Linked DNA regions of Homo sapiens: regions 1, 3 and 4 are each linked to region 2. The links are contacts of gene promoters, found by promoter capture Hi-C in blood cells and fetal thymus (Javierre and others, 2016). All regions are on one chromosome and are shown on one strand. Each heading gives the region's core, a stretch centred on a gene start or on the middle of the fragment in contact. The rest is flanking DNA. Distances are from core to core; before and after follow the strand shown.

Region 1 (2,700 bases), core at 55-2,554, 7.5 Mb after region 2:
CTGCCTATACCACTGTTGCCCAAAATCTTCCAGGTCGCCACCCCCCTCACCTTTATCTTAAGTAAAAACGTTCAAAGAAGAAATCACCCACTCTTACTTCCTCAAAGGTAGTCACTCCCCACCCCCAAATCAAAAATCGATCCTCTCAATTCGGCTCCTCCTACAGAAAAGGCGACCTTCAGGCGCACCCGGTCTCCGCGGACAGGACGGAGGCGGACACAAAACCCCCTTTAATAAAGTCTCCCAAACTCCGCAAATCGAAGATCACTTTCCATCCTGAAAATTCCACAAGGGTCTTAGAGTGACAACCCTTACGCTCCTTTAACAGGGTCCCTAACTCTGCCCCGTCCTTCCAACTTTCTTAGAAAAGTCTCTAACGTGCCTTTTAAACTACTAGAATCTCAGACCCGCACTCTCCCCTTAAATCCCCCCAAAGGCCAAAACACTCCCCATCACATGCAAACTGATTTCAGGGCAGACTTCTCAGACCCACGCAATCACTAGAACCACTCTCCTTTGCCTAGTTCCTGCTTGCTCTCGGCCCCACATCAAAATCCCCGTAGGCAATTTCAATTTTCTCCCGCACGCCCGCGTTTTCCTGAGTGACACCTCTCCCTCCCCCCACAGCAGCCCGCTCGTCCCCGCGCCCCCCGTTTTAAAAGAATTTAAAACTTTCACTCCGCAGTCTCGTAACTGCCAGAAGCTGCACTTACATTCTCGTCTCCAGAGAGGTCTGGATTGCTGTTCTCGTCACTGCTCAGCTTCTGCTTCTTGGCCGCAGGCATGTCTGTTCCCGCCGGCGCAGTCGACACTTCCCTCTCGGACATATTCCTCCGCCTCCCTCCAGGTTCCTGCCGCCTGGGGCGGGGCCTCCGCCACACCGCCGTCAAGCAAGCCCGGCCCGAGCTTGCCGCAAAGTTGCCGCTGCCGCCGCCACCTCCACCGCCCCCCCCACTGTCGCAAATCGCGCCCAGCCGCCGAGGCGGGCGTGCGTGCGACCCCGCCACACTGCTGAAAAAGGGGCGCGCGCGCGCGCCCTCCCGCGCGGCTTCCTGGCTCCTTCCCTTCCCCAACTCCCGTCTTGCCCTTTTCCCGCCGCCCTCCCGGCAGTCTACACGATGTAAGGTCCGTTGGATTAAGAGGGCAGTATTAAGTATGTCTCCCTTCCCACCACCGCCTCGAGAAGAGGCGAAACTCAAAGGGATGCTCCCTCACCCCCTTCCTCCTTCCAAAGACGTTTCAGCCGCAATTGGCCCGTTCCTTCGATCTCCGACCCGCTGCTAGGGAGCGAAAGTCTGTGGAATGGGCTACACCACCAATGTCCCAGGAAACGGGGGAAGATACAAGACGTCACCTCTTGCTTTAGCTGTGCATGCCACGTTTCCTTAATCTTGAACTTGGAGGACAGCGCTTCCTGACTATTCACGGAACTATTCATAACCTAATTCTTCCTTGAAGATAGAAATGCAAAAACAGTAACCTGCTTCCCCCTGGCTTCCCCCATCTGGCGAATGGAAAGTACCCGTCAGGGGATGCGCAGGCGCCGTGGCGTACTCTTGCGCTGGGTTCGTCGAAACCCGCCTCCTCCAAGCCCCTCCTCTGTTTGAATTCTCGTTTGCTGAACCAGGTAGTTTTCTACCCGGTTTCCGAATCCCAGGGTGGATTTCAAAGCGCTACCGAATTATACTCTAGACGCTTCGTAAATTCTTGTCGGATATTTATTCTGTTGACTATTTATTGTAATGAATGATTATCCTTCCAGTTGCTACCAATAGTGGTTAAGACTTAAATAGAAATATCCTAACATTATGAGACTAGACTCCAATGAGTTACAGCCAAAGTGCTCTTTTTAGCTGCTAAAGGATAGGCCCTGAACTACGCCAAGGCCTAAGAATCAGTGCTCATCTCCATTATGAGATTGTGATACTTAACCGACAATGTTTTGCTTGTTTTTGCACATCAGATACAATGAAATTCTAGAAGGCAACACAACTGTTAAACTTCACCAAAATATTTGCCTCTGTTACTATATCTATTCTCTAGCAGGTGCCAGATAACATTGGTGAGCCTTGTGGAATTATTATATGGGTCATGAAACCATAACTGAATGAGCAGCAGGAAAAGGAGAGTGATGACGAAAAATAAAATACGGCATCCGCCACCTTTTTTTTGTTTTTCTTAGAACATGATTGTGACTACTTATCTATTCGGGCTTCTGTAAAAATGTCCTCATCTGTAAAAATGAGGAGGCAGGAAGGGAGAAAGGGACCTACCATTTCTTGGGCACCTGCTTGATGTTGTATATCTTTTCTCTTCTAGACCTCATTACCCACCTAGAGTGCACCATCCATAAAATTCTAGTATACTTGAATTATTTCTGCATGATAACTTTATAACCAGGACATCAGTTTCCTTATCTGCAGATTGCAAGTCACTCTTTCTTTTGTAGATAAAGAGAGAACTCTTGGTTGAGAATGAGAAAAGGAAGTAAAGCAAAGGCAGGTCAGAATGAGAGGTTTCTGCAGTGAAGACTTTGAAATAAAGAAGCCGAAAAAAAATTAAAGTTGAGGTCTCAATGACGGCAGTCATTTGTTCAGTACTTCCAATGTTCCAGGCACTACTAAGCACTCCTCAGTTGGTGAGAAGAGATGAGACTGGAGTAGAGTAAGCTCCTGACAAAGTAAGACGTGCTTTGGCATG
Region 2 (2,700 bases), core at 178-2,677:
TTTTCCCCTTCTTTTTGAACAAGGGACGCTGCATTTTCATTTTGCATTGAGCCTCACAAATTACACAGCTAGGCTTGCTGCTGAATACGGCAGTGAGGGACATGCCATACCAGTCCTGGAGCTTCGTCATTGCCCAGACCCTGTGGATCAAATGCAGTGGGCTGCCTAAAGGATCGGACTTTTTATCCCCGGAATTGTCCAAACTATGGAGCAAAGCAGGTAAAGAGACCAGATTACTTTTAAGGCCCGTTCAATCCTAAAATGTGAACTATAAAATAAGACTAGACAGCTTTACTGATTTTTGTGGTTTATCATATGAAAACAGAATTTTGAAAGCGGAAAAATCAAACCAGTTCATTCCTTTTTAAAATTACTTTGGGAGGCCGAGGCGGGAGGATCACCTGAGGTCGGGAGTTTGAGACCAGCCTGACCAACATGGAGAAACCCCCGCCTCTACTAAAAATGCAAAAATTAGCTGGGCATGGTGGCGCACGCCTGTAATCTCAGCTACTGGGGAGACTGAGGCAGGAGAATCGCTTGAACCCGGGAAGCAGATGTTGCGGTGAGCCAAGATCGCACCGTTGCACTCCAGCCTGGGCAACAAGAGCGAAACTCGGTCTCAAAAAAAAAAAAATTACTTTGGGAGAAAAAAACCCCACCAAAACTAAACTAGTTTACACTGTTTAATCTTAACTCAGGAACCGGTCAAGGAACTAATGGTGTGGGGCAGGGGGGATGTAGGAGGAAACTTAGGAAAAACAAATCCTCCACAGGTCTCACTTGTGACATGTTAGCCAACTCCTGGGAGGCAGAAAGGGTGAGCTTACGAAACAGGTGCAAAAGTGGGGAGGAGACCTGGGCGTGCTATGGAATAACACTGGCGTCCAGCACAAAGGTTACACACTTCGAGTCATGGTCAAAGAATGAGCCTTCTCCAATATTTTAACACACAAGGGTTTCTGAAGGCAGAAATAGACAAAGGATTACAAAACACTCAGGCACACATCCCACCCGTCACCCTCGCCACACACCCGGGACCAGATTTAGAAAGCCAGGCGACAGCTCAGCAAACGCGAGACCACCGGAAACGAACCGGGCTGAGAGGCTGTTTCCTCACAGTTCTCATCCACTCACAAGTGACCGCACGTTTTGTTTTTGTTATTTGCCGAAATGTTCTTGGCTATTCCACTCACCTAAACGGTCACGGTAGCAAAACACCCAGAGTCCGGATCTTCGCCTAGGCCAACCCCGCCTCCTCAGAATACGCGAGCTAGAGCTCCGCCCACGTTAGTCAGTCCTCCCTGCGCGGCGAGAAAAATGGCGCCCCCACGTCGCGTCTCCTCCCACCGCTCGCCTTCTTCCCGGAAGCTAAGTTGTATCGCGAGATTTCGGCCTGACTATTACTTGGGCCACGGAAATAGCCAACCCTTTTCTTCCGCACGGTTGGAGGAGGTCGGCTGGTTATCGGGAGTTGGAGGGCTGAGGTCGGGAGGGTGGTGTGTACAGAGCTCTAGGACACCAGGCCAGTCGCGGGTTTTGGGCCGAGGCCTGGGTTACAAGCAGCAAGTGCGCGGTTGGGGCCACTGCGAGGCCGTTTTAGGTAGGTTGCTAAGAGGGCGAGGCCGTCCGGGCCTGGCGGGCGGGGGAGGCGTTGCATATCTGGGGTTTCCCGGGGCCCCTTCGTTGGTCCGGAGGATCGAGACTCCGAAGTCGGTCCGAGAGGGTGAAGGGATCACGGCCGCAGGCCACTCCGCGCCACGCGGCTGGTATGAGTCCCACACAAACGTGGTTGTAGTGTGGACGGGCTTCATTATATCTTGAGATGGAGGTGTTAAATCGTGTTGCGGACAAGTTTAACCTTATTACGTGATTTAAATGATTTAACCTTCGTATGTGAGGTACCCATTACTCGCGCCGGTTTTCTGCAGGTTAGGCGCTGCCGGGTGAGAGGCGCTGGTGGTCACAGCGTTAGCTCCGGGTAAAGCGCCGCTCTCTGCCCACGTGGCCTCTAAGAATTGCAGAATCCCCACGGAGGCATCGACACCCAAGTAGGAGTGTCTTCTAAACACTTCGAAAAAGTGATTATTGAGCTAGCTTTATTTTGATAATCCCTACTTTTAAAAAAAATTAACTACAGGTATACCGTTAAAGCATGGGGGCAAATTTTTGTTGAATTCCGTTTTTGAGCATTCGATATTTAATGACTTTGTAGAATCTTGTACTTAAAAAAACTAGTAAGACCTTGTACCAGGAAAATACCACAGGGGGCATTTAACAAATCTGAGCTCTTGGTGACCTTATCGTTTCATATTTTAAATATTTTGCTAGTTCATCCTAGGATTTATATGTAATGACTCATGTCAGGTCCCAAGAAGCTACAGAATGAGACAAGAGATTGACTAAGGCATGTACAATAATGAAATAAGTAGTTATCTTTAATTTTTGTTGCCATGCCTTTTTTTTTTTTTTTTTTTTTTTTTTTTTTTTTCCTGAGACAGGGTCTTGCTCTGTCGTCCAGGCTGGAGTGCAGTGGTGCAATCTCGGCTAACAGCAACCTCCACCGCGGCTTAAGCGATCCTCCCGAGTGGCTGGGAGCAAAGGCACGGGCCAACACACCTAGCCAGTATTTTAAGAATTTTTTGTAGAGACAAGGGTCTCCTTGTGTTGCTGAGGCTCACTACATACAAGCTCCACCTCCCA
Region 3 (2,700 bases), core at 137-2,636, 7.4 Mb after region 2:
AAATTAGTTGACAACGTGAGAGATACATGGATTCCAAATAGGCTTTTTATTCTTTAAGAAACACAATTTTAATGTCATTCATTAATAACACTCACTCGTCTGAGTCACACAATCATTCCAGGTTTGTCCTTTTTCCCTATTAAGAGCAGGGCAAAATTATCTCACCAGGATTATGAATTACCACCATCACCACAGGGGTCTCCCAGTCATTCAAGAGACAAACTTTATGAGGCTAGTCATCTCCAACTTATCTTTCTGGCTTCTTAGAACTGTATATGTACAGAATACAATACATTATCAAAACTTGATGGGAAAAAAAGACAATTCAGCAAAGGGACTGCAACATTTTAAAAAGCCAGGAGAAAAAAGAAGGAAAAATACTTCTAGGGGAAAGGAATCAGGCCTGAAAATTGATGTCTGTGTGGTTTCTAAGGAAACAAACAAGATTCACCTTCCAGATTATTCCTAAAGAATTCCAGGTGCTGTTCTCATTTACTCTAACAATTTGGCAAGGTAAGTTATCTATTTTGACCCATAAGGAAACACACTACTCGCATCCTTCTCTGGTTATCTCAGATACGGCTCACACGTTAAGTTTCAGCCAACTTCCAATTAAATTAAGCTTATTTTTACTCGGGTTCTTCCAAAGGGACCCAAAAGATATACATTCCCTGAGCACCTTAATCTTTGAAAAACAGTTTGCTATAGACCAAATTCAATCCCAAATTCACCTCTACCTCAAGTTAATAAAGAAGGTATTTATACTGGCGATTGAACTTAGTTCTGTAACTGCAAAATGTCAAAGATAAAGACCATCTCACGAGTTATGAGGATTAAGTTCAAAGTGCCAAATAAGCGCCACACATAAGGCTGAGTGACCAAAGGCGTGCATTGCACTTAGCCCAGTACTTGGTACAAAATGCACACTTAATAAATGCCAACTTATACTGTGACTACTATTCGAAAGAATCTGAATAGAGCTGGGCAAAGGAGAGCACCCAGCTTCCCACGCTCCATCCTCACATACCCACCCAAAATATAATAAGTGGGCTTCCCCGCATCCCTAGCGCCTGCGCACCCTCCCTGCCGTAGGGCTTCGCCCTCGGTATCCTGACCCCTTCCTGATATCACCCGGTCCCATCCTCACCAGCCTCCCCGCCACCAAGCAGCCAAACATGGCGACGGCAGCTCCGTTCAGCCGGCAGTGACCTGAAGCCGGCGACTAGGAGTCCTGGGGCTACTGCCCTAGTCGAGACTAAGAACCTTCCAGAATTTGCGGGAGGGTGTCTGCCCCTCCACTACATAGTGACTGGGCCAGCGGCAAGAATGCCTCTGCCCCCGCGAACTCTGACCTTCTCTTCCTAAGCAGCCCACTGCTCAGGCAACAAGTACTTCCGGGGCTTACACCCGGTTTTCCCCACTAAGGAAGAAAGGCGGGCCAGCGCCAGTACAAGACTACAAGTCCCAGAACAAGTCCCAGAGGGCACCGCGCCAGTTTCCGGGAAGGTAAGCCTGGAGGCTTTGCACACTGGGATCGGTAGTCCGGGTGTTTTATAGCCACAAAATCTGTGGATCCTTCATTTCCATGTACAATCCTGGGAAGAGATGCTTCTAACGTTTCTGTGACATCTGAGAGATTAACGGTGCACTTTTACAATAATCACGTCACTAGATCTTTACAAAAACCCTATGAGGTAAGTATTATAATCCAAATTTTATAGGAGTGATCAGCCTCAAATCTTTACACAGCAGTAAATGTTGGAGGCTGAATTCAAGTCCTAATCCAAATCCGGGTTTCTTTCTGCTACACAGTGTCTCAGAAGTATTAATCTTTAACCAATTGTTTTGTACTTGTCTACAATTTATAGTAGTTCTTTCCAGCTTCACTTAGTTCTCCCATTCATTTGCTGTACAATTGTGGACGAGTTGTAGATGTCTTTGTGCTTCAGTGCCCCTCCTTTGCAAAAGACAAATAATGAGCCTATTGCCTAGGGTTGCTGTGAGGATTAAATGAGCTAATATGTATAAAACACTTAAAACAGTGCTTGGCTGTGCTTAATTAGTGGGAGTTTTATTGTAAAAATGTCTATTTTTTTTCTATGTGGATCTGCAGAAAAGTTTCATAGGAAATACAAAACAATAGCCAAAAAAAAAAAAAAAAATACTGGCATTAAGTACCGATTGCCACCAATACTTATTCTCCCTTTCACAGCTCCAATTCCTTTTCTTCTTGAATAGGATAGTAAAGGGTCTCTGTCCAATTTGAAATATCTGAGCTTGGCCACCAGCCGTAAAGCAGGTCTGTCTTCCCAGTTCTCAGTTTATATATGGGGGATCAGTGTTTGGAACAGTCCTCTGGCCTCCACTGTGGATCCCTAAACTGATCACCTATCTTATCACCGATACTCCTTTGAGATAGCTGTGCCAAAGGTGAAGAGGTAGGAAAGGATCTACCAATGTTTCCAACTTACTATCTAAAAAGTCCTAGAACCTTCAGAATAAAAAGGCCATTCATATGAAGACCACTTCATAAATTAAGGCACCCACACTACCTGGGTTCAGAGCCCATCTCTGCCATTTATTAGTTACATAATCTCAGGCAAGTTAACCTAACACTCCCATACCTCCTTTTCCCCATCTTTAAAATGAAGTAATAGTAGTATCTACCTCATAAAGTTGTTTTGAGGGTTCTTACACGTA
Region 4 (2,700 bases), core at 127-2,626, 7.7 Mb after region 2:
GAGCGTCTCCAAGCCCCATTGTTTCTTCATCAGCCTCCTTCGGGTTTCAGTAAACGCCTGGTTCCTTGCATCCAGATCCTTGTTATCCCTCCGGGCTGCCTCCCTGGAAGGGATCCCCCACTTCCTTTGCTCCACTAGCTGCTTCGCCCATCCCTTCCTGGCTTTCTGTTCCACCTTCCCTCCTGCTTTTGGGTTACCTTTTCATCGCCTCTATAGTAGCTTCAGTGTAGTTTCTTCGACTCATTTTAAATACCATACCCAGTTACCCGACTTTTATTTCAGATTACCTTCTTTGTGGGAGTGAAAGTAAAAGGATTCAATTTGGTGTAGGGAAAGCTTTCTGGAAAGTTGGGATTTTTATTTGCCTCTGGTGGAATTTAATCGTTGTGTTGTCCATACTTTTGACTGGGGTGAGTTTGTGACTGTCAGCTCTGCCCCCCAGCTTTTCACATGGGGATATGGAAAAAGGCATTTTGCTGATACTCTTATCAGTTCCTGGAACTGTTAATTCTGGCGGCTTGAATTCAGAAGCTTGAGTGTTAAGCGTAGACTGTTGGAATTCCAAATGGATTAATAAATTTACTTACAAATAACATACATCCCTTAAAAAAATTGGCAAAATGATGTTTGATGATGCTTGAGTTTGGATGTTTTAATTATGCCAGTTACCTTTTGAGGAACTAGCTTTAGCTTCTCTTACACGACATAGTATTCGTCCATTCGCTAACGTAGATACAATTAGTAGAGCTAACTCCTCGTAACTTTTTTCTAACCTGGAAGTCACCTGTAATACCCTCCTTTTTCTTTGCGCTCTTTTACCCCAGGGTACAAAGCTCATTGGATCACTCAAGCCAATGGAGCTTAGACCTGAAACTTTTCAGGGAAAAATAGGGCAATAGTCACGATAAGTAAGTTCCCTTTTTAAATGACTGGACACATTAGTCTGACTGACTTTCATCATACATGAAAGTTACTTTGTTTTACTGTTTGAAGCAAGAGTGAGCATGCCCTGAAAGATAATTCACTGTCTGGAAGCCTGTTTTGATTTCTCATTTGGACTTTGGCCGTAAAGTTTGCACTTTAAAAAAAATGTACGAAATGTAGATTCTTCCAAGTTACTGTGCTCATGAATGCTGTTAGAACAAGTTTTTGCTACACAGAAGCCTATTATTCTTTGTGATTGTTCCTCCACTGTGGAAAAAAGTTTTAAATAAAAAAGCATTAGTGCTTGATTCTTTCAGATATGCATGCAGGCTGCTTTTAAACTCTCAGTCCTTGCTTGTCTTAGAGAATGGAGAATATGTTTAAATGGTGACACTCTTATGAACAGAAAACTTTTTAAAATGCATCGTAAAGCCATATGTGATTTTTTGATTATCTGATACGTGTAGTAGACGTTTCTGCTATTTACGGCTCTTCAAATACTACTTGGTTTGCCCTACCAAATCTTACAGTTTGTCCTGACACTGTGTTAATTCTTTTGTTAGTTGCTTTTGGTTTTTTTTTGTTTTTTTTTTTTGTATGGGAGTATGAAGAAACTAGTTGTGACTGTGTGAACTATTTTCCTCTTTCCTCATTCAAAATAAGAATCGATAAGGCTTTTAAAAGTTTTTTTTGTAAAGGTTTGTGTCTTATTTCAAATGTAGCAGTGGTTCTTTTAAAGCATTGTCAAAAAGAGGAGAAAATAGGTAGGGTTAGAAGAGTGCTATTTGCATGTTGTTTCATAAATGTTATTAGCTATTTCTCTTGTTATAGCCACTACTGCAGATAGATGGTAACTGGGATTAGGTTTGGAGGATAATCTTGCATTTGTCGTTCTTTTTCTCTACCACTTCTGTGTTTACAAGCTCCCACGTTTTTGGAACTTGAATATACCTGGTAGTATTTGATTTAAAAATATATGTGTCGTTAATGTGCTTCTGTTTCTTTTCAATGAGGTTTTAAAATACAGGGATACTATTTTCCCTACATTGTTGATTAAAATGTCCTGTAATCAGTTCTCACTAATAAAATACCTTTATCTTAGGTAAAGTCTGACCAGTGAGTGGTTTACTAAACAAATACCTTCCTTGCACACACTAACATGCTTTGAGAAAATTAAAAAGTCTTCTACGGACAGTTCATGGTGTTGACATCATGAACTTTAGGCTTTAATACAGAAACCTGTCATTTCAAGTAATTTTTTGTCTTTTAGGAATTTTTCTTTATAGTGAAAGCTTAGTTTATGTGCACCTTTTAATGCCCCTAGCAACTGATGCTTATTTATATGAATCTAATGAAAATGATTTCATTTTAAAATGGCAGCATTTAACAAAAAATATGCTTAGGACTGTTGTTTTTCGTATAAGCCCTTAGAGTGTGGAGGTGGTTTCTGTCAGTTTCTCGCCAAGATCTTTCCACATTAGGAAGTGATTATTAATAATTCATGAATTATGGCTTAATTCATACTACATTATATACTTACTGAAGAAAGATTTTTTTGCTTTGCTTATACTGTAGGTGTTAGTGGATAATAGTGTTGACTAGCATCCCTAGTGTGAAAGAGTTGTCAAACTTGAAATATGTTTGTAAAAATAAACACGATTTCCGTTTAATCTTAGGCCTTTAGTAGCCATAATCAAGGTAGAGGAATAGCAGCCCTTATATTTGAAGAACTTCAGTTTTCCAGGCACTTTCTCATCATCTCATTTAATCCTGTCT

What was found. Contacts are between HindIII fragments. The CHiCAGO score rates a contact against its expected background, and 5 or more counts as called.
Region 1: a contact is called between the fragment with the promoter of EED here and the fragment with the promoter of TAF1D in region 2, in 1 of 17 cell types (neutrophils). The highest score is 7.6, in neutrophils.
Region 3: a contact is called between the fragment with the promoter of HIKESHI here and the fragment with the promoter of TAF1D in region 2, in 2 of 17 cell types (non-activated CD4 T cells and naive CD8 T cells). The highest score is 7.5, in non-activated CD4 T cells.
Region 4: a fragment that was not itself captured here is called in contact with the fragment with the promoter of TAF1D in region 2 in 1 of 17 cell types (total CD4 T cells); the score reaches 5.1 in total CD4 T cells.

Annotation. Positions count from the first base shown.
Region 1 is chr11:86,243,357-86,246,056 of GRCh38, reverse strand. It overlaps EED (embryonic ectoderm development), which reads right to left and starts at 1,304. Exons shown (of 12, transcript NM_003797.5): 1 at 714-1,304. The coding sequence starts at 827. RefSeq lists enhancers at 792-1,320, 1,321-1,851. The HindIII fragment of the contact is 4,943 bases long and covers 1-2,700 here.
Region 2 is chr11:93,740,222-93,742,921 of GRCh38, reverse strand. TAF1D (TATA-box binding protein associated factor, RNA polymerase I subunit D) reads left to right here and starts at 1,427. Exons shown (of 6, transcript NM_024116.4): 1 at 1,427-1,600. C11orf54 (chromosome 11 open reading frame 54) reads right to left here and starts at 1,250. Exons shown (of 9, transcript NM_001286069.2): 1 at 1,194-1,250. RefSeq lists enhancers at 1-37, 558-677, 444-1,129, 1,258-1,767. The HindIII fragment of the contact is 24,379 bases long and covers 1-2,700 here.
Region 3 is chr11:86,300,926-86,303,625 of GRCh38, reverse strand. It overlaps HIKESHI (heat shock protein nuclear import factor hikeshi), which reads right to left and starts at 1,386. Exons shown (of 5, transcript NM_016401.4): 1 at 1,148-1,386. The coding sequence starts at 1,177. The HindIII fragment of the contact is 4,753 bases long and covers 625-2,700 here.
Region 4 is chr11:86,065,566-86,068,265 of GRCh38, reverse strand. The region is part of intron 1 of PICALM (phosphatidylinositol binding clathrin assembly protein); the gene reads left to right. Among named protein-coding and RNA genes, the nearest start is that of PICALM, 2.2 kb to the left of the region's middle. RefSeq lists an enhancer at 1-536. The HindIII fragment of the contact is 1,685 bases long and covers 534-2,218 here.